Linked DNA regions of Homo sapiens: regions 2, 3 and 4 are each linked to region 1. Evidence: promoter capture Hi-C in 16 types of primary human blood cells and fetal thymus (Javierre and others, 2016). All regions are on one chromosome and are shown on one strand. The core of a region is centred on a gene start or on the middle of the fragment in contact, and the rest is flanking DNA. Distances in the headings are between cores, read along the strand shown. Region 1 holds the start of FST (follistatin). Region 2 overlaps ARL15 (ARF like GTPase 15). Region 3 overlaps ARL15 (ARF like GTPase 15). Region 4 overlaps ARL15 (ARF like GTPase 15).

Region 1 (5,330 bases), core at 65-2,564:
AGGGCAGTTTACAACATACTTAAAATGTTAACGCTGAAGCAGGGAAAGTAATGCCTTAAGGTGGGGGGAGGGGGGAGTCTTCCTACCATTTCACGGTTATAAGTACCTATCTCATACCTAGCAAGAAATATTTGCAAGTGATTTCTCCCTCTTCCCCCTTTTTAATGTTCGGATTTGGGTCGAGAAGACTTCTCATGAATCACCAATATGACTTTAACAATCATTGGATCGCAAGCTGCTATTATTATTTTAAACATTCTGCCCAAAGACTAATTGAAATAAACAAATCTATTTTTAAAAGGCAAGCTTCAGAAATTTGCTCTTAACCCATTTCAGAATTTAAGTCAGTTATGGGCTGCTCACTGTTTTACAGAAAGCTAAGGGTCAGAAAGAAGAATGAGGCAGAGGGGAAAAAAACTGTAAAGTGCTCAAAGCACTTTGGGGTAATAATTTGGCTTTTTTTTTTTTTTTTTTTTTTTTGCGAGAATGGGGGATGGGGTTGGAAGAAGCATCCACTAGGCAGAAAGCTACTTCCCTTGAAAATCTTCAGCACCCACATTTCCAAGTTTGGGCAAAGTTTCTGAAACCACGTCCCCCAGCCACCAAATAAAATTCAGTATCTCTCCCCCAAACCCCCAGGTTTTCTTTTCTTTCTTTCCTTTTTTTTTTTTAAGTATCCAAAAGATGTGGGAGGGAGAGAGATGAGACTGCAAATGGGTCGACTGAAATCTCCAGGCTACTACTGATACTTGTTCCCTTCTTCAGAGCCAAACAGAGGAGATCACATCTAAAGTTATCATGGCCAGAACTTGGAGCATTTAACCCTAACTACTAAGACCCCAGCTCGCTCCCTTTCCTTTTTCAAGATAACCGAGCTCCAAACTCAGTTCCCAGTCCTAAAGTGTCATTGCCTACAATTTTCCCACTCCTCTCCATCCCGGAGTCCCCAAGTTGGTTCAACATCTTCCGAGAGCAGCGTTGCTCAGAACAGACCAAGTGGAGACCACAGAAAAGTCGACCCCCCTGTCCTCAGCCAAGCCTCCCCAGCGCATCCCCACTCGCTTACCCTGGGCACTGCGGTCCTCCATGAACTGGCAGAGCAGCAGCAGCAGGAGGCAAAGCCCACCCGGCTGGTGCCTCGCGCGGACCATCCTGGGGGCAGGCGCGGGGCGAGGAGCGCAGCGGCGCGGGGAGCCGGCGCGGCGGCGGGTGGCTCGGGCGAGCGGCGCGCGTCGCAGAGGCCAGCGGCGGAGGGCGCAGCGATCCCGGCGCAGCCCCGCGCTCGCCGCCGGCCGCCCGCGCGATTCAATGGACGTCAGAAGCCGGGCGCAGCCGCGCTTTAAATCTAGACGGGGGTCTCCGCGGTTTGCGGTGGGCGGTCTCCCAGTGTGTGGGGCTGTGGGAGGGCGGCCGCGAGCGAGGGTGTGCGCGGCTCCTTGGGGGTGGGGAGCTTTCAAAAGTTCAGTGTGAATCAGGTGACATTTCCCACCTTCTGGAAACCCTTCCCAATTATCTTTCGGAGGTGCCCGAAATCAAAACGGCTGGAAGGGAATCGTCGAGTTCTTATTTGCGTAGGAGCGAGAGGGAGGGGGAAGGCGACCGGGGCGGGGGTTGGGGGCTACGCGTCGGGGGTGGGGAGTGGGGAAGAACACCCACTTCAAGTCCTGCTCGCCGCCGCTCGCCGGCAGCGCCGGCGCGCCCGGGGTGGCGGGTGTGTGTGTGAGTGTGTGTGTGAGTGTGTGTGCGCGCGCGCGCGAGTGTGAGAGGGAGGGCGCGGTGGGGGCGCTGGAGGCGGTGGCGGGGGGAACCCGGGAGTTTGTCTCCGTGCTGCCTCTCCTCCGCTCCAAAGAGACTTTTGCAAACGGCCGAAGAGCCCCGGGCTGCCCAAATATCCCGCCCCGGGTCGGGTCGGAGCGCGCCGGCCTCGCGGCGGTTCCGGGCACCCGCAGCCTGGGCGCGGGACCCGCGAGGTTTTGTGTCTGGGTCTGTGAGTGCCTGACTTTGCAGCCACCCCCAGCCCAGAGGTGTTGCTAGGAACCCCGGCCCCGGCACCTTCCACCCTGGCAGAGCGCTACCGAGACGCGGCCCTTCGTCTGGACTAGTCGGAAGCAAACAAAAATGTTTAACACCTCAGGCCCGGTCTCCCCGCGGCACAGCCTCGCCCTCTCCCTTTCTTTTCTCCCCTTTCACTTCGCGGCGTCTGGAGTCGGAGCCCGGAGCGGGGGCGCCGACGTAGGCGGTCTGGCCCCCCCTTCCTCTCCCGCCTGGAGACTCCCCAGTTTCTGTCCTGTGTGCCTCTGTCTGTCTCTCAGTCTCCTCGGCTCCAATCTCTCTCTCTTTCTGTCTCGTCTTCTCTCTTTTCGCGGAATAAAAAAGATTGCAACATCCATAATGAACTTCTGTAGCCTCAGTTTATTAAGTACAGTGCCTGGCATTCTTCGCTGAAAGTTGGCGGGTCTCTCATTTATAACATTTTTGGCACCGCTGAATGAAACTGAGGAGGCGATATTTCCTTTTATATAAAACGATTACTTCACGGAAAATGCTATATTGTTTATTCCAAAGCTGCCTTTTAAATTTGTTCTTTTCGCATCTGAAGCCCGAAGGACAACAGATAGCGAAGTATGCAGACAAAATTCTTGGACATTCGCAGGTCACTGGGATTTGTTCTACGAATTTCAAATCTGCCCTTCTTCCCCCCCTGCAACTGCCCTCCCCCCGCCAGACCCTCCCCCAGTCCTCCTCTAGCCCTCCCACCCCCCATCTTCCGTCAACCTTCCCCCCTCCACAACTGCAAATAACTCAGTGATAACAGATTTTTTTCCACCAACTGCAGGAGATAGTGCTAATCTTTTAATAAAAGATCCCATTACAATGGGATCTGTCTGGACAGACTATAATAGATCCCGAAATACAGCCGTGCTAATATTAGAAGACAGTTGTTTGGGTGCCTCTCAGACGGGCCCAAGCCCCCCTTTGAAAGTGGGCATGAATCACAAAGCCCCGCGGCCGCCGCACCTGCACCGCGCGCATTCGGTGCAGCAGGCTGGTAAAAGCGGGTGACCTCGCCGCCGCTTTTCGCTTTATAATTACCGTCATGAGGACGGGAGGGGAGGGGCTCGGGCGGCCCGGGGGAGACTGGATTTTGCTCACTTCAGACGGCTGTGGGGGCTCCACATCCTTCTTAATCTTTCCAGAATCATTCTGTCTGTTTCTGTCTCGCTGTCTCTCTCCCCTTCTCCCTTTCCCTCCAGTCCTCCAACTCATTCCCTCTGCTCTCTTTCCCCTACTCCTTCCCCTCTTCTCTCCTTCCCTCCCTCTACCCAGACTCTACCCGTACTCTCCCTCCCTTTTCTCCCTCTCTTTCTTTTCCAGTCTCCTTTTCTCTCTTCCCTCCAACTCATTAATGTAGAGTTGTTTAGTGCCCTCTAATGGCAGACGACATTAACAATTAATAGCAAACTGTCCCCTTTGCAGGAGCCGCCACTCAATGGCAGAGTTCCAAAGCTGAATTTATTTCTTCTTTATTCAGAGAAATGGTATAGTCCTTATACAATGATGTGCTGGAGGGAAAGTTTGTTTTCTCTGCTTAAAGGTTCCCCCACCCCTGCCCAGGGATAAGTTAAAGGAAAGAGAAGCTAACAAGTATTGTTACTTGACTTTTCCCCCTACCCTGTCTTTTAATGGCAGCAAGAGACACAGCTTCTTTTTAAGGTAGAGGTATCAAACCGTATATCCAAGGTTGAAAAATAAACATTCCAAATGCATAAAAGATCTCAGATGGTAAGTAACTGGATCTTACAGCAATGCTATCAATGATCATACATAATTACATGATTTTATATTTGTCTCCAGTTTAAATATATTTATTGGTCCTGAATTGGCCAGTAGCCTCTGGAAACTGGGGTCTTTTTCTTAGACTTTCCACCCTAGGACTATACAAAATATTTAAATTTTACTTATATGCCTAGTTGTATATGAAGTCATCTTGCCTGGAGAAATATAGAATCACGTTTTAATCCATATTTATTTTCTCAATATCTTTGGGAAGATTGTTTTAAAGTTCATAATCTCATCATATTTTATAACCGTATAGCAAGGAGAATAGTGATATAACTTGTATGTTCTTATTAGATTTTAATTTTGTTCATTCCTATATGTACATATAACATGTTGATGTAAAAGGGTCATACAAGTATACACAAAGATTACCTTTTTGGGGGAAGGTCTGTGTAGCTAAATGAAGATTAGAATAGAAGCAATTTGGAGGGGCTAGTCAAAAAATTTTCCATGTTTGAGCAAAACTATTTAGTTTGTCCAGATACTTATTTTAGTTTATGTATATAGAAACAACTGATGTCACAAAAACTTTCTAAATTAATTTAAGTTGTATCCTCACAATTCCAGTATGATTGGGTAAAAGTAAAAATTTCATTTCTATTTCATTTTTTGTCTATGTAATGCCAAATGCTCAGACCAGTCATTTGACTAAATTGACTGCCTTGACTAGTTGTTTTGGCATCATGTAATTGTCTTGGCTAAGCCAAAGCAGACACAGTAGCTCTCATTGTAAAAAATGGCACCACAAATAGGAGTCCCTCAGTACCAGAGGGTGACCCAACACAGGATTACTTCTCGTCCCAGAGAAGGTGACCCTGCAGGTCAGGGTTGAGGTCACTGGCAAACACACTGTGGAAAACATAAGTGCTGTGTTGCTTTTGCCCTTTTGAATAAGCAGCTTGGTGTTTGTTTAGTGATACAAGCTCATCCTGTTTTTCAGCTGCACCTTGGATAGTATTGATCTGTTTGGGAGAATGTCTGCTCCAAATCAGCACAGATCAGTCACCATGACTCTTGCCATCTAGGGTTATTTTCAGATCATAACTGAGGAAATGAGACACAGGTCAATACTGGTTCCTTATAGGCTTTCTGTGGGCATCAGCAAGAGATCCATCCCATTTCTGTGGTATGAAATGGTACCACACCTGTTCAGTGACATCACAGAAAAACAGCTGCTATTTCTTTTACTGTTATATCGCCTGTAAATGTTAAATATTGGGTTTGTAGATATCTAAATGTCAAGGGGACATTTTAAAATAAAAATGTCGCCTTTCATTTTTGTTGTATGCCTCCAAGTTTGACTTCTTATTTTTCCTTTCTGCTCTGCCAAATAAAAATGTAAATTATGAGAAACACAATAGGACCACTTTGTAGCTGAATTTCTGGGCAGCACACAAAAAGACTACTGTTTTCTGATTGGTCTTTTGTCAGCTTCAAAAGCTGTCTTCCTTCTGAAGTTTATAAATTTAAAATATTAGAGTTTAGCAAAT
Region 2 (5,090 bases), core at 629-3,128, 520 kb before region 1:
TGCACCAATGCCCCATTAGCCCCCACATCCCTTCAGCATCGTCATGTTAAATAAATTCCTTATTCCAGTGGGAGTTTACTTATTCTGTCTCCTCCCACTCATGTCTGCTATTTGGGACATCCCTCTTTTGGTTGGTGTTGCCCTGGTTCTCATTGGCACCAAACCCAATTCCCATGTCTGTCTCTCCTTTTTAGACCATAAGCAGGGACCAGGCCTTTTCATTTTGTAACTGCTGCATGTAGTACAGTGCCTGGAACACAGCTCAGTAAGTAACAAGCTGATTGATTCACTGAATTAATATTGAACGGCTTCTCTCCCACCTCCCAGTTAGTTCTCAAAGACTTTTCATGCCCTCATCTCTTATGTAAATATTCCACTTTTATTCTTTTGCATCTCTAACCTTCCCTTTATGTTTCTGCCAGAGTTGTCCTCCTTACAGAAGTCCCTTTCTGTGCAGGGCTGTGCCTTATTCATCTTTATATAACCCAAGTGCTGAACCGCAGTGCCTTGTATACAGTAGCCACTTAAAGGTATGCTAAATTTGAGCGGAGCTAAGAAGGAAGGAAAGAGATGTGAGGGGTGACACATTGAAAGGAGGATTAGAAAGATAAAAGGGGAGAAACTAAAGGGCTGAGGCCAGCCAGTCTGTCTGTAAACATTCCATTAGTCCTGGTGTTAGATTGGATAAAAGCTTTTTTTTTTTTTTTTTTCCTGATGTCCCTGGACACTTCTCCTTTGGAAAAGAACGATACATTATTCAAGAGATGGGAAAAGCGAGAGAAATAGGGCTCAGTCCCCCTCACAAAAATCTGGTTCATAGAACCCAGAATTTTGGAGCTAGAAAATGCCTGAGTAGAGCCCAGCTCTCATTCTGCAGGCAAGGAAACTGAGGCATGAGGAGGTTAAGTGGCTTAGCAGCTAGCTAATGGGAAAATCAGCAGTCAAACATGAGTCTCTTTCTTCCTCTCCCAGCACATCCATCAGTAAATCACATTTTCTCTTTTCTTGGTGGTGCAGGCCAGTGTTTAAGGTGAGGGATTATGATTACTAAGAGACTAGGCATTTTAAAGACCCTTTGCTAATCACAAATTTTTGCAAAGTTTACATCAGGCTCTTTTTAAAGGACTCAGCATGGTGGGAAATAGATTAGTGGTTTTACATTTCTTTTTTTTAAGTGGAGATTTCCAAAGCGTCCCTCTTTTTATTTTCTTTTTAAAATAAAATTGTACTTAGCATAATTAGAGAAACAGATTAAAGTGGAATTGTTCTGGCTAAATTGGAGGTGAGGACCATAAATTCTGCTTGCTGCCCCCTTCCCCATTCACCTCCTTCATCCTGCTCCTGGATGCCCACTGAAGAATCTGAAAAGTTTCTTAGAGAACACTTTTTATCCAGTTAATCAAATGACCTCCAAGGTCCCTTTCATTCTCTCATGCTATGGTGCTGAGATGATGTAGTCTGTTGCCATTTGGATCATTATTGAAAATTATCAGGTGATGAGGATTTAGGGAGAGTGAAACAAGAAGTGGTGTGGGAAGGCCTGCTATTCATCAGGAAATAAAAGGTACCCTTAATTTGGTTTTTAAGAAATAGTCAGGAAAAGAGATTGATAGGGCAGCAGAGAGACTGTCTACTGCTTGGAGATTTTGAATGCTGTGGCTAGAGTGATAAACAAAGACAACTCTTAGCAGTGGGCACATATCAAGAAATGAAGAACGACGAGCCCAGAGTTGAGGAGCTCAGATTAGGGAACTCTTCTGAGCTCAGGACATAAAGAAGAAGACAGATTATTTGGAGAAAAAAGTTTGAAAGGTTTTTGTGAACTGGATTTATAATGTAAAGGACAGAACTTTGTTGAGTTGTTTTCCAAGGTTCAGCAAACGAATTGCATTTCAGCATAAATTTGTCAAATGGTAGATGAGAAATGTATTCTTCACCCTATTGAGGTAGTAATGTTGGAAAGAGATCTTGCTGTACGATACAGGAGAAGGAAGGTTTATTAAACTGCACAGAATGTCTGCAAGTCATCCCACATCTCTGAACTCTTTCTTCCCATCTGTAAAAATAGGAAGATTATAATTTTAGATATGTTGAGCCTGTGTCCATCCCAGTGCTCCTGCTCCCTTCTGCCTTCAGGCGTAAGGTACAGGTGTAAGGTGTTAGCCTACCATTATTCTCTTTTTATCTAGGGTCTCTTTGGATCAGTAGTCTCTAACTAGAGACAATACCATTCCTACCTAGGGGACTTTCACCTAACCAGCCTCAGAAACCTATTTTTAGGTAGCAAAAGAAAAACATTTGTCATATAGACCTAGATGTTAGCTGCTTGTCACAAGCTGAAGGGGTGTTCTCTTTTTTTTTTTTTTTTTTTTTTTATGAGACAGTCTCACTCTGTCACCCAGGCTGGAGTGCAGTGGTGCGATCTCAGCGCACTGCAACCTCCGCCTCCCGGGTTCAAGCAATTCTCGTGCTTCAGCCTCCCAAGTAGCTGGGATTACAGATGTGCACCACCGTGCCCAGCTAATTTTTGTATTTTTAGTGGAGACGGAGTTTTGCCATGCTGGCAAAGCTGGTCTTGAACTCCAGACCTCAGATGATCTACCCGCCTCAGTCTCCCAAAGTGTTGGGATTACAGGTGTGAGCCACTGCACCCAGCCTGAAGGGGTGTTCTAATGTTGAGTATGATCACACATGCATCAGCTCTGTTCTGGTACTCGCATTTCGTCAACCAGAGGCTCCCCTCATAAATGTCAGATTAGTCCCAGGAGACACTAGTCTGCAATCTGATTTCCCTTGCCATTGTCCCCAGCTAGGCGGCAGAGCTGAGTTTAACTAAAAGTTTAAGAAAACTGGGTTTTTTGCTCACCCATCTAGCTGAACATTCTCCTGAACATCTGCCTGAACATCCTCCTCTGAAGAAGCCAATGAGAATTATTGATAATGTATGAACCCCCAGGAGACAAACCTTTTACAAATAAACTGAAAGACAAGGAAGTAAAGTTATATACAGTTATTAAGGAACACTCAACCACCCCTGCTTTTTAAAACCACATAATGAAGCTTTAGCACATTTCACCCTTATTCTGTTTTTGTTTCTGTTTTAAGCTAGAGACTCTTTGGGTCAGTGGTTTCCAACTGGAGAAAGTACTTTTTTGCCTAGGGGACTTTGGGGAACGTATGGGAATATTCTGATTATCACTATAACTGGGGTCACTGCTAGCATTTTGTGGGCAGGGGCCAGGAATGCCAGGACAAGGCCAACCCCCGAAAAGGGAGAATTATCATATCTTAAATGCCAGGAGCATCCTCATTGAAACACTGAGCATTTTAATGAAAATGTACTCTTCCTTTGCCAAATTTTCTTACTGATAAACTATGATAAACTACTCTTGAAGATGAGTAATCTATAGCTATTTTGCTTATTTGGACCTTAGTAGTGTAACTGTTTTCTGACATTGGACACTCAATAAGTGTCTGCCAAAATACTGAGAATTATGAGTAGTGAGGCATCAAATATTTAAAACATATTTCTGTTTTATACATAAGCAGTATAGTCATTTTTAAAATCATTTATTGCACACCCCTAATGTAGACAAATGTTTATAAAATATTATTTGAATTAAATGCAACTGCACACTCACATCATTTAAAAAAATCCCCAATTGCTTTTTTTTTTTTTTTTTTTTTTTTGTGACGGAGTCTCGCTCTGTCTCCCAGGTGTGCAGTGGCACAATCTCGGCTCGGAGCAACCTCCACTTCCCGGGTTCAAGCAATTCTCTGCCTCAGCCTCCTGAGTAGCTGGGATTACAGTCACCCACCACCATGCCCAGCTAATTTTTGTATTTTTAGTAGAGATGGGGTTTCACCATCTTGGCCAGGCTGGTCTTGAATTCCTGACCTCGTGATCTGCCTGCCTCGGCCTCCCAAAGTGCTGGGATTACAGGCATGAGCCACCGCGCCCAGCCTCCCAGTTACTTTTAAAGAATGTCTTGGCACCCATTAAGAAAAGTAGATGTTTAGACCAGGTACGGTGGCTTATGCCTGTAATTCCAGTACTTTGGGAGACTGAGGTGGGAGGATTGCTTGAAGACAGGAGTTTGAGACCAGCCTCAGCAACATAGTGAGACCCCTGTCCATATAAAAAGAAAGAAAAATAAGTGTTGATTTGAGGTTTGTGTGTTTTCATTTAAATGGCTCTAATATTAATATTAATGGCATAGGACTTTCAAAATAATTTAAAAAAAATTTTAAAACAAGGCAGCTGGTATATGGCCTACATTTAGATGTGAGTTGCAGTTTTTAAATGCATCTTCACTGTTGGTGGTCTCAGCAAAGTCAGTTCAGACATGGCAGGAGTTAGGGATTGGGAGGAAGAAAATACAATTTCATTTTCCTCATGTTAAATGTACATTATCAAGGATCCAGTTTAAATGTGTCTAAGTTAATTGGAGCCCCTAGGAGCCACTTTGCTAAGCAGCTAATTCAGCCTCTCTTCCCCAGAGAGGATAATTGTTGTTAAAAAACAAAAAAGTAAAATGTGTTGTTTTCTCATGTAATTATGTAACTGACATCTTTATATAATAATACATTTGGGTGGTCTGTCCCTGAAACACTCGGTTTGTTAGGAAACATTACAGTTTCCACAAGTAATCACTTACTCCTAAATATGATGAAAGAATTTGGTAGTATTACATTGCATCATTGCATTAGTCAGAAGCTAAACTTTCTAAATGAGTTTGGCACTGGAGAAGGCTTCTAGGTTTTTTGCTATATTTTTCTTAAATGTCATTATATGAGCTAAAATATTCTTCAGGTGGAATACTATATGACGGAATGTTTAAAAGTAACAAAATACCAATCTGTTAAAGAAAAGAGCAAGGGTCCCAAAGTGGCATCTTTTCAGTAATTACATTGTGATATCCTTATCAACGTGGTTATTCCAGTCTCTTTCAGCTCATTCATTTACCCCCACTGGATTGGGTTAGGACGCATGAACTTACTTGCCATAGTGAACCACAAATATCTTGACAATGGACACACTGCCATTAAAATGGAGTTCATTTTAATACATGTTGGTAATAAGGTTCTGT
Region 3 (5,331 bases), core at 2,383-4,882, 590 kb before region 1:
ACATTGTCATCACACATCTTTCCCATAACGCTTTATTAATTACATATTTCCAAAGGAATGGCGTCTTAAGGTCCCAGAATCCACCAGAGTGTTCACAAAAACATTGTAAAATATCCCTTGAAAGGTAGTTAAAAATCAGGTCATGTTAGAGCTGCCTTACATACCTACCCTTTCCTGAGAAAACCTCACATCTTTGCCAAATGACAGACAGCTTACCTGGATTAAGGTTCACAACTTAAAATAGAATATTAGAAAAAGAGACTGACGCGACTTACCTATTATTAAGGCTAGCTGTTGTTGTACACACTCCAGATTTTATGTGTGCATGTTAATTAAGTAATGAGAACCCCAGGGCAACATTTAGTATACATGTTTGAACATTTTTCCCCTTAGAACAGTGAGCATCATGTTTCCCCGTATAATGGCTGACATAGACAACCAAATTCCTTCAGACCTTTTCAACACTTGTTTGGAAGGTAGATTGCTTCCTTTTGAGTTCTTTACATTTATGGCTCAGTGTCTGCGTTCATTTTTCTGGGGGAATGCTTCCATAAATTTCATAGCCACTGCTATAATCTCTCTAGTGATTAATCTCTGAAAAGTTTAATGAACTGTCTAAAGAGGGTGATTTTCTACTTGGGCCTGGTAAGACACTTTTTACGTTGCTTCTCTGGAGCCATGTTTTCCGTGTTATTTTCATGATATTCCTACCACATTCATTTTCTTTCTTTGAGTAGTAGATATCCTTAAATAAACATCACAGTTTGAGAAGATATCATCCTTCATCCTGTTGCATTCCAGCCAAAAGGAGGTCAGAGTTTGAAGAACTTGAGTAAATGAATGACAATATGTTAACAGGCATAAGAAAAATTTAACGGTACTCTTAATTTCTCCCTGTTAAGTCTTCATTTATGATGATGAAGCACAACTAAACATCTTTGGGGTTACTTGAAACATCCTGCGTAGCATAGAAGATGTTCTCATAAGGGAAGCTAATAAGAAGTCACCACTCCTTCAGCAACTGCTAAGAGGAAGAATTTGCTTCAGACAGATTATGTGGCAACTGCAGTGGTCCAGTGGTTGGAGGCCTCTTGATGAGCACAGGAGCCTTTTTAGGAATTAACGCTGATGTCTTCCTCCATGGATGTTTTCTACATAGTTTGGGGGATTAAAAAAAAAAGCACTCCTACATTGGACTCTATTAACACTATGAATTTTATTTTTCATTTAGTTTCATCTTTTAAGTGTTGTAATTATATACCTCCACAATCTATTAGAACGTAGTACCATTGTAACGAGATGTCAGCTAAAAATGTAAGTTTTGGCCTTGAGAAGGTGATTTTTTTACAGGATTCTTACTTGTGATTTAATTCTGCAGTGAAGAATACTTTCTCAAAGAGTTTGTATATGTTCTTTGTCACTATTTCAAATAGTTTATCAGAAAGGATTTAATATTGACGTATATTATGATATGAATCCATAATTTTTCATCAAATTACTGCTATACTATCCTGATTTCTCTTTTTTTTTCTTTTTCTTTTTTTTTTTCTTGAGACGGAGTCTCGCTCTGTCGCCCAGGCTGGAGTGCAGTGGCGCGATCTCAGCTCACTGCAAGCTCCGCCTCCTGGGTTCACGCCATTCTCCTGCCTCAGCCTCCCGAATACCTGGAACTACAGGCGCCTGCCACCATGCACAGCTAATTTTTTTTTTCATGTTTTTAGTAGAGATGGGGTTTCACTGTATTAGCCAGGATGGTCTCGATCTCCTGACCTCGTGATCCACCCGCCTTGGCCTCCCAAAGCGCTGGGATTACAGCCGTGAGCCACCGCGCCTGGCCTATATTATCCTGATTTCTTAGTTTGCTATTGAGTGTCTGCCAAGCATTGTGCTGGGTACTCATTTAATCGTTGTACCAACTCTGTGGTGCGTGTGTATGTATTATTTACACATGCACACACACTTATTCAGATACATAATTTATTATGAATAGATATAAGGTAGTATAATGGGTTAAAAGACAAACTGCAGAGTCAGTGTATAAATCCAGGTCTTTCTAATTCTAGATCTTATCCTCTTACCTAGTCCGTACTCTTCATTTTACCACATTTAATATGGTACTTATTAAGGGTATAACTTAAATACAAGATTAAATTACTACAATTTTAAAACTCCACATGAACTATATGACTGGGTGCAGTGGCCCACACCTGTAATCCCAGCACTTTGGGAAGCCAAGGTGGGCAGATTACCTGAGGCCAGGAGTTCGAGACCAGCCTGGCCAACATGCCAAAACCCCATCTCTACTAAAAATACAAAAATTAGCCAGGTGTGGTGGTGCACACCTGTGGTCCCAGCTACTCAGAAGGCTGAGGCATGAGAATCACTTGAACCCAGGAGGCGGAGGAGGTGGAGGTTGCAGTGAGCCAAGATCGTGGCACTGACTCCAGCCTGGGGAACAAAGTGAGACCTTATCTCAAAAAAAAAAAGGAATATATATTATTAACCCAAAGACTGTTTTGTTCTAGCTTCTGTTTTTGCTTTTCGCCTTTGGCTGCCTTGTGAATAAAATCTTAAATGACCGTGATAGAAAAATTATGTAAAGTAGTATTCACTAAAACTTTACTTCTGTAATTCAATATGAAGAAGCTTCACGTCTACCTGGGGAAAGTATATCAGTTTTCTCAAGCCTACCTTGTTTGTCTAGTGACAATAACAGATTCCTAGGGTTGGAAGAACCCCCTATATTTATTGTCCTGAACTTGGCAAAGATCATGAACATTCATTTAACCATCTAAATTATAAATTATCTTATAATAGCTTCTTTGGGCCAGGAGACTTTAACTTATTTAAAGTAATACAGTATAATGATAGGCCAGGACTTTTTTTTTTTTTTTTTTTCCTGTATTCTGTACTAAGAATCATTCTGTCAGATCTGCTTTGGGTTTTTCTGTGAGTGTTTCTCTTAATTTATATTTCTAGAGTTTTTGTGTCTTGTGGGGATATAAAATTCCTCAGGAGTGTAAGGAGTAAAAGACTAAAGAACATTAATAGTGTGTGAAGATTGCTACCACTGAGACCTGGGGAAGTGAAATATGGGCAAATGGACTCATTTAATTTAAAATTCTTTTTACTCTTTTACCTTCTTATATGTGTCTTTTATTTGAGCATTTTTAATGTGATATAACTTAAAAATTAAGCTTCAGAGTCAAATAGAAAATATCAAAATTAAGAAGGAAATAGATGTATTTTTCACTCTGCCTCTAATACTATTAAAGTAAAATCTCTCTGACTTGAATAATAGAAACTGACAGTTCTGAAAACATGTGCCTTTTCTTAATAACACAGGCAATTGTCTTTTATTTATTTCATCAGGGAAAGACACTTAAGCTCACATAGATTTCAATAGCTTTATGCATCAAACTTTACAAAAGCAGAAAAGCAGATAAAAATTAAAAGTTAAATATCTTTTCCTCTTAGGATCTTATCTTCTTTATTCTTCTTCCTTCTTCTCAGTTGTTTATTAGCTTACTCTTGGATTTACAACATTTTATTGACAATCTGTGGTTTGTGGACTTTATTAGTCCCAGTCTGTCACTTTAAGAAGGAGAAAAGGAACAGAAATGATTATAGCCACTATTTTTGGATGTATTGTAGGTTTTAGGCATTTAGTTCTCACAGCCACACTGTGAAGTAGGTGCTTCATAATCATCCTCCTTCTTTAGATGAGGCTCAGTTTGTAAGCAGTGGACCTGGTGTTTGAATACCAATCTGTATGATTTAGAGACACAGGATTTCCCACCACCCACACCATTTGAACATGTTATAATCCAGATCTGGTATATAGTAAAGATGCTAGTCAACAGTAAAATTACCAAATGGGTGAGCTAGAAGAAAGACTGACACAGAGTGAATATTCAGCTATCACTCTGTAAATAAAATAGTTCCACTCTGGTTTTTCTCTGCTGCCAGCACAAATGAGACTGGAAGGCAACACCTGGAATGACGGGACCCCACCCAGTCTCCATGACATATCTTGGCATTCCCACTGAAGCTGTTAAGAAGCTTGGAATGCTAGAAAAACTAGGAAGCAGCATAATAGTCAAGAGGAGTTTTGTGCTTACAGGTACTGCTACATTCCCACCTGGCTGCTGCCCATACATCCCATTGTAAAGTTTCTTGTTACTGCTAGTTTGAGAGCCACCTTCGTGTCTCTTGGCTTTTCTTTTAATCAAGGGGACTAGAAGTAGGAAAACATTTCTTTGGGGCTTAAATGATGTCAGTAATTGGCAATGGAAAAAAGGAAACTTAATCTGAGCTGATCACAGAGACACTGGTCTTTTCCTTTTATAAGGAGACACCACTAGACTATTTCCATTTGCTTTCCCCAGAGTGTTATATTGTTTACTACTCCATGTAAGCCAGCCATATCTTTAAATGAAAGCATTTTCTAACCAACTTCTGAAGTGAAATGGTAACAATCTCACTTGAAACCTATATGTCAGTACATCCCACAACACATGAGTTTGTTTCAGACTTTGAGTCCTCTTATATATGTGGTGAGAAGTTCAAAATTACCCCTTATTTATACAGCCTTTGGCAGTTTGGGCAATGTGTTTTGTCACCTGTTTGCTGTCTTACGAAGAGCTGGAAAGTTTATGAAGAAATAGAAAATATGACTTTGAGCCCTTGACATTTTAAAATAAATGTACATATTGTTAGTGACAGATTGCTAAACTTGGCTTTAGACACTTAGCTATGTTTCTTGCCAAAAGTAATCCAGATGTGCATAATTTATCCGACTGCCATATGTGCACTGACATGTCGTTCTATAATCAACTGTTCAGTATGGTTACAGTTATATGTTCTTTTTTATCAACAATCTTTTGAAATATCACTGACTTGATAACTTATTTTAAGTTTTAACAACTTCTCAAAAAGTAATGCATAACCAATTTGGCTTTAAACCTGAGTGACCAGACATGTTGAGTGTCTAGAAAAGACATTGACAATCCACATTCCCTGAGGGCCATATGTATTTCAAGGGGGAAAATCTAGGATACCATCTTCAGCGTGATTCTATTTTGATGAGTGTCTTAGGGGTATAGAATAGAAGGTGTACCCAATTAAATTTTGTTGAAACAAAAACAAAGTAAAGTCTCTAACCAAGTAATTTGTTTTGGAAAGGGAGTGGGAAAAGGAAATTTTGATACATATGAAATAAATATGTGGAAAGAGGATATTTCATTTTTTCCCTAATGCAGTATCTTCTGTGTTGTGTGCAGGCAATGCTTGTGACATTCACATGGGGTATGGCACTGTGCTGATTCCCAA
Region 4 (5,420 bases), core at 1,008-3,507, 570 kb before region 1:
AATAGGAACTTGACAAGCAGAGAGCAATGACAGAAGAAACTGGATGTACAAAGGCAAGTGAGTATAATCATACAATGGCATATTATTTGGCAATAGAAAGGAATGATAGGCCAGGTGCAGTGGCTCACGCCTATAATCCCAGCACTTTGGGAGGCCGAGACGGGTGGATCACCTGAGTTCAGGAGTTTGAGACCAGCCTAGCCAACATGGTGAAACCTCGTCTCTACTAAAAATACAAAAATTAGCTGGACTTGTTGACATATGCCTGTAATCCCAGCTACTTGGGAGGCTGAGGCAGGAGAATCGCTTGAACCCGGGAGATGGAGGTTGCAGTGAGCCAAGATCACGCCACAGCACTCCAGCCTGGGCGACAGAGCAAGAATCTATCTCAAAAAAAAAAAAAAAAAAAAAAAAAAGGAATGATGATGCAACTAATACATGTTACAACATGGATGAACCTTGGAAACATTATGCTAAGTGAAGAAAGTCATTTACAAAAGGCCACATGTCATACTATGCCGTTTACTGTAGATGAAATGTGCAGAAAAGGAAAATCCATAGACACAAAAAGTAAATTGGTGGTTGCCTAGGGCCAGGGAGAGTGTAGGGATTGGCAAGAAATGGGATTTGACTGCCAATGAGTATGATGTTTCTTTGTAGTGTGATAAAAATATTCTAAAATTGATTACGGTGATGGTCGCAAAACTCTGTATGTACTAAAAGCCACTGAACTGTGTTCTTTAAGTGCATAAATTGTGTGGTATGTGAATTGTATCACAACATGCCTTTTTAAAAAAATAAAAGCTAAGTGGGTGTCCAAGAGTGTGGAATGTTTAGGTCGCATGGAGAAGTTTGGTGTGACTGGAAATAGATTCGGTGAAGTGAGATAGATGAGGTAGGTTGTGGCCATTTGACAAAGGGCCTTCTGCTTCAGATTAACACCTTTACCTTTTCTCATCTAGTATTCTTTTATTTTTTTGAGACGGAGTCTCTCTCTGTAACCCAGGCTGGAGTGCAGTGGCGCGATCTTGGCTCACTGCAAGCTCCGCCTTCTGGGTTCACGCCATCCTCCTGCCTCAGCTTCCCAAGTAGCTGGGACTACAGGCGCACGCTGCCACGCCCGGCTAATTTTTTGTGTTTTTAGTAGAGACGGGGTTTCACCGTGTTAGCCAGGATGGTCTTGATCTCCTGACCTTGTGGTCCGCCCGCCTCGGCCTCCCAAAGTGCTGGGATTACAGGCATGAGCCACAGCGCCCAGCTCTAGTATTGTTTCTCTAAAGCTCATCCACATTGTTGAATGTAGTTTATATTTTTCACTTTTGTGTAATATTTCATTGTGCAAGCTATACCACTGTTTATTTATTTGGGACATTTGCTTTGTTTCCAGATTTTTCTTTCAGAAAGAGTGCCACAATAAATTTTCTTATACATAATCCACTGGTGCAAGTCTCAGAAGATAGTACAGTGCCATTTTTATAAAGCTCAAAAATAAGCAAACTCTTTAAAGGTATATATGCATACATGTGTAATAAGACTGTGCTAAAACGAGGAAAGATATTAAATACAACATTCAGGATAGTGATTTATTTAGGTGGGGGCGAGGTACCGGAAGTAAGGGGAGAGATGGAGCACAGAGGATGGCTGTAGGTTACAGATAATATTCTAGTTTCTGATTGGGTGGTACATTCATAGCTAGTTATTTATTATTAAATAAACTCTATTTTAGAATGACTTTAGATATACAGAATTATTACAAAGATAGTACATAGTGTTTTGTGTATCCCATACCCATTTTCCTCTGTTAAGAGTAGGGGGACATTTATTACAGTTAATGAACCAATACTGATACATTGCTTATAACTAAAGTTGATATGGTATTCAGATTTCCTTAGTTTTTATGTATGCTTTTCTCTGTTCCAGGATCCCATACAGGACACCACATTACACTTAGTTTTCACATCTCCTTAGGCCCCACTTAGCTGTGACAGCTTCTTAGACTTTCCTTGTCTTTGACGACCTTGACAGTTTTGAGGTGTACTGGTCAGGTATTTTATAGAGCGCCTCTCAATAGGAATTTGTCTGATGTTTTTCTCATGATTACACTTAGAAGGAAGATCCCAGAGGTACAGTGCCACATCACATCATATCAAGGGTAAACACTGTCAATGTGACTTATCACTGTTGATATAAACTTTTATCACCTGCTTGAGGTAGTGTTTGTCAGGTTTCTCCACTTTTTCCACTCTAGAGCCACTCTTTTTTATTTTTATTTTTTTTCTTTTTTCATACTCTACTGTTTGGAAACAGGTCATACTTAGAGAGCCATACTTAGAGAGTAGTTATGCTTTACTTTCTTTTGGATAGAATACCTACACAAATTATTTGGAATTATTTGGAATTTTTCTACATAGTAGGTTTATCTCTTCTACCCCATTTATTTGTTGATTTATTCAATTATTTACTTATGTCAGTAGAGACTCATGGATATTTATTTTATACTTTGTTTTTTGTTTGTTTTGTTGTTGTTTGTTGTTGTTGTTGTTTTTGGAGATGCAGTTTTGCCATATTGCTCCTAGTCTCCAGGGATCCTCCCGGGCCCCAGGGATCCTTCTGCCTCAGCCTACCAAGTAGCTAGGATTACAGGTGTGTGCCATCAAGCCTGGTTCATACTTTGGATTATAATTCAATACTCTGTTATTTTGTTGCTTAAATTGTTCCATTTTTGGCATAGGATGTTCTTTTAATTAGCTCCTACGTCCCTTTGACATAGCCTCATCGTTGTGGGGTTTTAGGTGATTTTTTTTCTTTTGGCACTTCCTAACTCTGGCACTGTAAGAGGCTCCACACTCATCTTGGGTATTTCTTGCCGCAGACAGGATCAGCCTTTTGTTGAAGAAGCCCTGGTCATTGGAAAATGGAATCAGAAACCAAGATCTGCGTGCCCTGTGTGCCACTGGGGTATTATTGCTTCTAGACCTCAGCTGATAGAGCGAACTCTGTGTGTGCACGTGTGCATGTGTGTGTGTGTGTGCTGGCCCATGTATATACATATAAAAACATTTTTATATGTAATCCTCTGTATATTAAACTAAATATGAGTTCATACTGAGGTCTTCAGCTCTAATTCATTCCCATAAGGATCATTCTAGCGTTTTTACCCTTGCTTATCTGTAATCTCTCAGTAAAACAGTGAGAAATCTGGCTCACGCTATCCACCATCCATTTACTCAATTGTTTAATTTTAGTATACATATATAATGGTTTCAAAATTAATCCATACCCCTGTGGGAGACAATTCTTACGTACAGTTTCCTTTACCTTTAGTCTTACAGACTTCCCTTTCTTCAAGAGTTACTTAGTTCTGCACTTTATACCCCAATACTTTTCTGGGAAGTTGTTGTATGCAATGTAATATGTTTAGATTATTTATAATATATTTAGATTGCATTTCATGCTAGGCTTCCCCGACTTTCTAGTTAATTTTTTTTAATTTGCATACATTGAGATTTATTCGTTGTGCTATAAAGTTCTTTGGGTTTTGGCAAATACTTAATGTCTTACATCTACTTTTAGAGTACCATACATAATAGTTTCACCTCCATAAAAAAAATCCCCTATGTTTTACATATTTGTCTCTCCCACTCTGAACCCATGGCATCCACAGACCTTGACTGCTATATTTTTGCTTTTTCTAGAATGTCATATAATTGGAATCATACCTTATATAGCTTTTTGAGACTGGCTTCTTTTACTTAGCAATATACATTCAAAATTCATCTTTTTTGTGGTTTGATAGCTCATTCTTTTTATCAATGAATAATATTCCATTGTATAGCTATACTGCAGTTTGTGTAGTCGATTCTTCTATTGGAAGACATCTTGATTGCTTCTAGTTTTTTGTAGCTATACATAAGGTTGCTACAAACATTTGCATATAGGCTTTGTGTGAACGTAAGTTTTAAAATCAATTGAGTAAATACCTAGTAGCGTGATTGTTGGGTCGTATTTGTAAGAAACTGCCAAACTGTCTTCCAATGTGGTTGTACCATTTTCTCACCATCAATGAATGAGAATTCCATTTGCTTTGCACCCAACAGTTGTTGGTGGTACTGTTTTGAATTTTAGCTATTTTAGCAAACGTGTAGTGGTATTCTTTGTCTAAATTTGTAATTCCCTAATGTCAGATGACGTTGAGCATCATTTACTTGCTTACTTGTCTGTTTGGTGACTTGTCATTTATCTTTTGCTCACTTTTAAAAACTAAGATACTTACTATTTATTTTTAGGCTCTGCAATTTATATTTGTTACATGTATTCTTTTGTATGTATCAAATAGTATGTTAAACTATTAAAGCAAAGGAACAGGAAGAAAAAGTTTCAGCTGCATGTTGTAAGTGTGAGGGTCGATTAAGAATTCAGACTTAACTTCAAACTCCAGCCTTGGTACTTATTAGTCTTGCGACTTTGAGAAAGTTATATACTCTTAAGACCTCAGTTTCTTCATACTTAAAATGAGACTAATACCTACCCTATCTGTTTCTTTGTGAGAAAATCATTAAAACAACAGTGTTAGCTAAAGATCAAGCAAGTGCTGGAGACTTGACGCATGTGCCACAAAGGAGATGCTCAATAAATGTTGGCTTCTCATAAGCCCAACGATGGAAAGCTTACTAATCATTAAGCAAATATTTATCAAGTGCCTATTCTGTGCCAGGCACTGAGATACATTCATGGGTCTCTGAGTAGTAGTATTAATATCTTATATCTACCTTTACGGTATCATCAAACTAGTTATATGACTTACAGTTTAAATTACTTTATAGTTTAAAATCACATTTGAGCCAAATTGTGACATTATATTCATAATTTAGAAAGTTAACATAGGGAAAGGATCAGAAGCAGAAGATTAAATTAGTAGGCTCTTCTAAAAATTCAGATGAGACAATAGGATCTAAAAGATAAAATTGGGAATAGAGAGAAGGGAACAGCTGAAGAGATATTTCAGAGGTAGAATTTCATAGACACGAAGATTACTAAGCGATCACGGGTAAGAGAATGGTGTTAAAGATTACTTTTTCTGATCATGAAATTTTAAAATATTGGTTTATAAAGCCTCATATTCACTTAGCATGTACTGATAATCCCCAGTTTTAGACACACGCACATAATATCCCTGGCCACATTTTCTTTTGCAAAATTCTTTAATTCAGAAGTGCTCCTTCCCCAGCAGAAAGCATCTGAAGAGAAAGTCAAACATTCAAGTCAAGTGGGAAACTTTCAAGATTAATTGCCTATACTCACTAGCCACCAAAAATTTTCTGTATTGGTTCTAATAGTTATATTGCAGAACATTTTAAAAGACAGCACAGTATTCTTGCTTGTCTAGTAAAGTAGGAAGGTAAGTTTTTGCTCAATGGGGT

What was found. The method cuts DNA at HindIII sites, captures the fragments that hold promoters and counts their contacts. A CHiCAGO score of 5 or more calls a contact.
Region 2: a fragment that was not itself captured here is called in contact with the fragment with the promoter of FST in region 1 in 6 of 17 cell types (megakaryocytes, M1 macrophages, M2 macrophages and 3 more); the score reaches 16.0 in megakaryocytes.
Region 3: a contact is called between a fragment that was not itself captured here and the fragment with the promoter of FST in region 1, in 2 of 17 cell types (megakaryocytes and M2 macrophages). The highest score is 6.1, in megakaryocytes.
Region 4: a contact is called between a fragment that was not itself captured here and the fragment with the promoter of FST in region 1, in 1 of 17 cell types (M2 macrophages). The highest score is 5.9, in M2 macrophages.

Annotation. Positions count from the first base shown.
Region 1 is chr5:53,476,613-53,481,942 of GRCh38, reverse strand. It overlaps FST (follistatin), which reads right to left and starts at 1,314. Exons shown (of 6, transcript NM_013409.3): 1 at 1,067-1,314. The coding sequence starts at 1,151. RefSeq lists an enhancer at 12-81. The HindIII fragment of the contact is 5,217 bases long and covers 309-5,330 here.
Region 2 is chr5:53,993,904-53,998,993 of GRCh38, reverse strand. All of the region lies in intron 4 of ARL15 (ARF like GTPase 15), which reads left to right. Among named protein-coding and RNA genes, the nearest start is that of MIR581, 45 kb to the right of the region's middle. The HindIII fragment of the contact is 2,369 bases long and covers 694-3,062 here.
Region 3 is chr5:54,072,641-54,077,971 of GRCh38, reverse strand. The region is part of intron 4 of ARL15 (ARF like GTPase 15); the gene reads left to right. Among named protein-coding and RNA genes, the nearest start is that of MIR581, 120 kb to the right of the region's middle. The HindIII fragment of the contact is 865 bases long and covers 3,200-4,064 here.
Region 4 is chr5:54,050,349-54,055,768 of GRCh38, reverse strand. The region is part of intron 4 of ARL15 (ARF like GTPase 15); the gene reads left to right. Among named protein-coding and RNA genes, the nearest start is that of MIR581, 100 kb to the right of the region's middle. The HindIII fragment of the contact is 4,822 bases long and covers 1-4,668 here.